Regions from separate parts of the Homo sapiens genome. Here region 2 is linked to region 1. Evidence: promoter capture Hi-C in human tissues and cell types (Jung and others, 2019). All regions are on one chromosome and are shown on one strand. The core of a region is centred on a gene start or on the middle of the fragment in contact, and the rest is flanking DNA. Distances in the headings are between cores, read along the strand shown.

Evidence for each region. The method cuts DNA at HindIII sites, captures the fragments that hold promoters and counts their contacts. A contact is called where the count stands out against the background at its distance.
Region 2: a contact is called between a fragment that was not itself captured here and the fragment with the promoter of DMBT1 in region 1, in 1 of the 25 tissues and cell types used here (bladder).

The regions. Positions count from the first base shown.
Region 1 is chr10:122,559,300-122,562,206 of GRCh38, reverse strand. It overlaps DMBT1 (deleted in malignant brain tumors 1), which reads right to left and starts at 1,453. Exons shown (of 56, transcript NM_001377530.1): 1 at 1,376-1,453. The coding sequence starts at 1,436. The HindIII fragment of the contact is 14,664 bases long and covers 1-2,907 here.
Region 2 is chr10:122,409,753-122,412,659 of GRCh38, reverse strand. The region is part of intron 5 of PLEKHA1 (pleckstrin homology domain containing A1); the gene reads right to left. Among named protein-coding and RNA genes, the nearest start is that of MIR3941, 5.8 kb to the left of the region's middle. The HindIII fragment of the contact is 5,773 bases long and covers 1-2,907 here.

The sequences.
Region 1 (2,907 bases), core at 204-2,703:
AAAAGGCAGTAGGAAAGATAAAAGAGAAGAAGGAAGAAAGAAATGAATAAAGAGAGGGAGAGAAAGAAAAAGGGATGGAAGGAAGGTAGAAAGAAGATAGAAACAAAGGGAGAGAGAGAGAGAGAAATAGGGAGGAAAAGTGATAAGAGCTGCCCAATAGATGATGAGAAAGAGTGAGAGAGAAAAAGAGAGGGGGAGGGAAGGTGATAATAGCTGCCTGACAGATGAAGAGAAACAGATAGAGAGAGAGAGGAAAGGTGATAATAGTTGCCCAATAGTTGAAGAGAAAGAGAGACAGAGACAGAGAGAAAGGTGATAATAGCTGCCCAATAAAGAGAAAGAGAGATGGAGAGAGAAACAGAGAAGGAGGAGGAGGGAGGGAGGAAAGGTAATAACTGCCTGATAGATGAGAAAGACAGGAAGATACAGTGAGGGGGGCAGGGAGAGAAAGGCAGAGGCAGAAACAGAGGGAGGAGGAGGAAGAAAAGGTGATATCTGCCCAAAAGATGGGAAAAAGAGAAAGATACAGAGAGAGAGAGAAACACAGACAGACAGACAGAAACAGAGGGAGAGAGAGGGGAGAGAAAAGATGATAATAACTACACAATAGATAAGAGAGAAAGAGAGAGAGAGAGAGGCAGAGAGACAGGAAGAGAGAGACAAAATAGGCAAACTGAGAATCACTTGTTCCTCTAGTATCTCTGCAAAATGCCATTGAGATGCAGCAATCAGAGTGCGCTACCGACGGCTCTCTCACGTTTATCATCTGACTCTCTAAGAACATACAGCTATGCTTGAGTGACTGGGCTTCAAGTGTTTGTTTAAAGCTGTGCATGACAGAGAAACTTGGAATTCCAAGACAAACTTGGAATCTTAATGATCTTGTCTGCGCTCAATTACTTGACCTGATTTTGCTCGGCAAATATTAGCCATCAAGCCAGACACACCTGTAGAAAGAAGCCACATAAAGGGCATTTGCAGTGGGAATCCTTTCTGCCCGTTTTCATAGCACACAAATTGTGTGTTTAACCAATTGTTGCAAAGTTTAAGGGCCTCTTAATAATACACATCCACCTTTCCTAAACTTCAGGGATTTTTCTAAGACAAATCAATCATTCCTTTAGTTGAATGACTTACTGAAAACATTGACTTAATGACTGGCTTTTTCTAACTACAACCATTTATATTTCTCAGCCAGAAATAAAACAAAAAAGAGCCATTCCTCCTGAATACCTGCAAACAATTACAATTATCAGCAAAGTGCTACCCACTCTTTGATATAAAACTTCCCTTGTAATGGAAAGTAGTAGATATAATTTGCCATGATTGGGTCTGCAGGAGAGAAATTAATGAATATAATAATTAAACGTAATACCTGTAGATAGAACTTGTCCCCATAAAAGACACATTTCAAGGATGACTGTGGAGATCCCCATTTTGCTGGGTTCTTCTCAATTGAATAGAAAATCCTGGACATTTATAGGTACCTAGCTAAAAGGAGGTGTGTCCTCTAGGGTGGTATATTTCTACTGCTGCTATAAATCAATATAAAGGAAGTGAGGGCTTTTGCTAACAGTCGATGGCTAATATGTGGAAAAAACTTAGGTGTGTTTGATTGATTGCCATATGAACAATCTGGCTGTTGCCCAACTGCAAACGCACTGACATAAGTGAAAAATTTCCAACTTCCCTCTCGGTGAACCTCAAGGACTCCCAAGTGTTTCCTGAATACGGGCTTGATTTTAATCTTGGGGAGTTCAAATTCACCTGTGGGAAGTCTGCCCCAAGGTTTGGGGAAGAACAGGATGTGGGCTGCTGAGCAAATACAGGACACAGTGCCAAGGGGGAAAGCATCTCTGGGATGGTTTTTCCTGGCAGGACATGCTCTCATCAGCCCCTGTGCAGTACTAGTAACCTCACCTTGGAAGAACGAGGATGACATGAGTGTGGATGTGATCAGAGAGCAGAAGTCATGAGGGATGATTCCACGGAGACCATGGGTCCATAATAGCTTTGGCCACAGTCTTCTGGGTCTCACACTAATTCCACAACAGGAGCTGAGAAACACATGACCTCAAACTGAACCACCTCCAACCATTTCACATGGCTTTGATTTCTTGTCCTTGACATGCACATTGTATGACCCTTGGAGCTTGGCAAACCCACAAAACCTGCCCCCACCTCCACCTATATTGCACACAATCCCCCTCCTTGGATTTGCTATGTAAATATCACTTCACTCTTTGGGACCCTCAGAAGTCATTACCAGACTCTGATAATGCCCCCCAACACACTCTACCAAGAAGGTTGCCTGACACTTATTTTTTAACCAAGACACTTGATGGCCAGTAACTCTTGGTTAAAAGCAGACAGCTTTCCAGGACTTGCCTCTGTTTTCCTAGCCTGGGTGAGCTGTGCCCTGCTTCTCAGCTGAGAGGCTGAGGCCATGAAATGACACTTGGCTTCTTTGCCATGCACTGTTCATCAGTAGTCTATGCTGCATTCTAGAAGGGTACCATGAACCCATGTCCTGTGTCAGCCACCAGTCAGAATTTAGGGCTGGAAGTCTGCCTTTGGCTTCATCCAGATGAAAGTTACATTTAATCTTGGATGTCCTTTTTAATCCTACAACTCTTCCTGTTGTTTCCAGGTGCCTCTTCACCCCTTGAGTAGAACAGGAACACAGAATAGGCTCACTGTGTTTCATCCTCCTACTGCCAGATCAGCAACTGATAAGCACTGGGTGACGAGAGAACAGGTTTACTCACCTACCAGGGAATGCCCAAGACCAGGCACATGCTGGATTCCTCTTAGAAGTGGATTGTGATCCCTTGGTTCCTGGAGTGTTGGACTGAGAATGATAATGCAGCTGGGTCTGGGATCATCAGAGTGTCATGACAGATTAGA
Region 2 (2,907 bases), core at 294-2,793, 150 kb after region 1:
CCCTATGCATAGGGGCTCTACCCCCACCTAAGAGGTAAGGAAATAGGCTCAGGGGCATTAGGGAATATAGATTCAGATCCTGACTATAATACATTCTAGCCAAGTGTGTGTAACTCTTCCAAGCCCAACTGCTGTGCTCTAGACCCTGTTTATTGGCACACTTACTATTGGCTTACAGCTCTTTGCTGTTTTCTTCCCTTTCTCCATTCCTACCCATGATTCTGGGATTGTGGCATATTCAGTCTTTCCTGGCTTCAAGACAGAGACTATTACCAAAACCATAGTGTATTCAATAAATGTTGAAAGACTCAATGGATGAATCCAAAGTCAGCAGAAAAAAGAATAGCAAAATTCTTAAAACAAATCAGAAGTTTCAAAACAAAACTTTTCATTAGAAATTTAAAGAAGGAATTCCAATACTTGGATCAATGATAAATCGTTCACAAGTACAGGAAAACAATGACTGTGGTAACAGCAGAATCTCACATTAACACCTCACTAAAGTGGATGAAAGAATCAGAGGTATCATAAATTTTTAACATATATTTTTGCTTTTCTTATGTGATCTATTCAGTAAATAAGGTACTCAGTTAATCATTATTTCTATCTGTAGACTGTTTAGCACATAGTCTGTATTTAAATTATACATTTTTAAGGCTGTGAATAAAATGTAATAAAATCTGCTCAGCATCAATTATAATGTTGAACATGATTTAGTCTTCTCCAATGATTTAAAGGGCACGTGGAACCTTGCAGTCTTTCAGAAACACTATGACAAATACTACTGACAATCACTGAAGTAGTGGTGTAGAAACATTTAACTTAAATAGTTTGCTTGTCATATAGCTAATTCCTGTTAATAGAGTACTGGTAGAACTACAGGACACCACTCACATTGTATTCAAAGGCTCAAACCGTTTATTAGTGTGATTCCAAAGCAGTGTGATTTCTCAAACTTTAGAGTGCATAAAGTATCACCCAGGAACATTATTTAAAACTTCAGATTCCCCTGCTTCGAACCCAGAAATTCTGACTCAACATATCTATAGTGCAGCCCAAAAACCTGCACTTTAAGCAAGAACACCAGACATTTTTGAGGCAGGAGTTTCATAAACCACACTTTGAGAAACACTGCTCTAAAACCTGTGCTCTTCTTCCATACGATGCTACTCCCACCAGATTTGTAGAAAAGAGGGTATACAATGCAGATAAGGATTTGCAAAGCAGCTTTCTGCAAAATATTGAGCAAACATGGTCCATGTGTATATGAAAGGATGCTGAGCTACAGTAAGTCCCAATCCACACAAATGTAATTTATGGATATAATAAATGACTTGTCTCTTAAGTGACTTCTAAAACTCCCTCTCCCTTCCTTCTCCACCTGCCTCCCTTGAAGAGGTTTCTCTCAGGCCCCAGGCCCAATCCTCCAGCCTCTGGTTCGTATTCATACTACAATGCCCTCATCCGCAGAAACAAAAGAGAGAGAAAACAGGAAAGAGAAGAGAATCCTGAATACCTCTTGAATTCTTCTAAGAACTTGCACACTTTGGAGTGCTTTTTAAAGACAATAAAATAATGAAGAGAATTTTCCTTGTCAAATAAAATTAGGATAGTATACCCTGGAATGATTTGCTAGGGAAGCCCATTATATTTTCTAATGAATAGCACCATATATTTCAATTATTCTGACAGAGAAAATATGGCCCAGTTATCTCATTGAGAAGAACAGCAACTAGCATTAAGAGAACCTGAAACCAGAGAGAAAACAATCTATTCAACTAGATAAAATGAGAGGTGCTGCTAAGAGGTGACCCATAAGAAAACTAGCAGTTATTCTCTCAAGAAGTTTAGTCAGACCTGGGAATTATTAGGAAAAACCTTTAAAATCATTCTAAAAAATACCGAAATTTATATTGGTTTTTCCATTTTTCTTAAATTACAGTATATTAAAAGTCCTTGCTTATGCTGTTAAGCTCACTGCTTCTAATTTGTCTTTATAATAAAATCAAATGCTAGTAGTTAACTTAGAACTGCATTTTACTATAAAAATTATCTAACTTGTAATCATCTTATTCCCTAAGAACAAGAAAAGTTCAAGCAAAATACCCATGAACATGGATAACTCCTCTAAAAACAATATGTACCTCTGTAAAACTTGGTCTAAATTCAGCCATTAAGATAGACATTTTCAGGACACACCCCTGCCCCAAACCATCCAACTGTCCAATGAAAATCAGAAAAGTGATCTCACTGGGCAGTTGGCACATGTCAGACACTGAATCCACTTGGTTTCTTTGTCTACTGCCTCTCTCCCTTTCCTTGGCTTTCTATCCTTTTTTATGTCCCAGCATTTTTTGTAGGAGATCTGAATGTAATCTTGGCAGGCATTTGCATGTGATCCTAGTAGTAGGAAATTCTAATAGTAGGAAAAGAAAAGGTAAAAATAACTAGAGAATAAAAAGATGAACAAGACAGATTTAAGTATTTATGAGTGAAATACATAAAAACGCTGCAGGTTTCTCAAAAGTTAAAGGGAAAGTTGATATTCAATTCACCAAGAATGAAAATATAATGTTGGGCTAGGCGCGGTGGCTCACGCCTGTAATCCCAGCACTTTGGGAGGCCAAGCTGGGCGGATCACTTGAGGCCAGGAGTTTTAAAACCAACCTGGACAACATGGCGAAACCCAGTCTCTACTAAAAGTACAAAAATTAGCTGGCTGTGGTGGCACACACCTGTAATCCCAGCTACTTAGGAGGCTGAGGGCTCAAGAATCACTTGAACCCCGGTGGCGGAGGCTGCAGTGAGCTGGGATAGCACCACTGTACTCCAGCCTGGGCAACACAGCGAGACTCTGTCTCAAAAAAAAAAAAAAGGATAAAAAGAAAGAATGAAATTGTCATAATG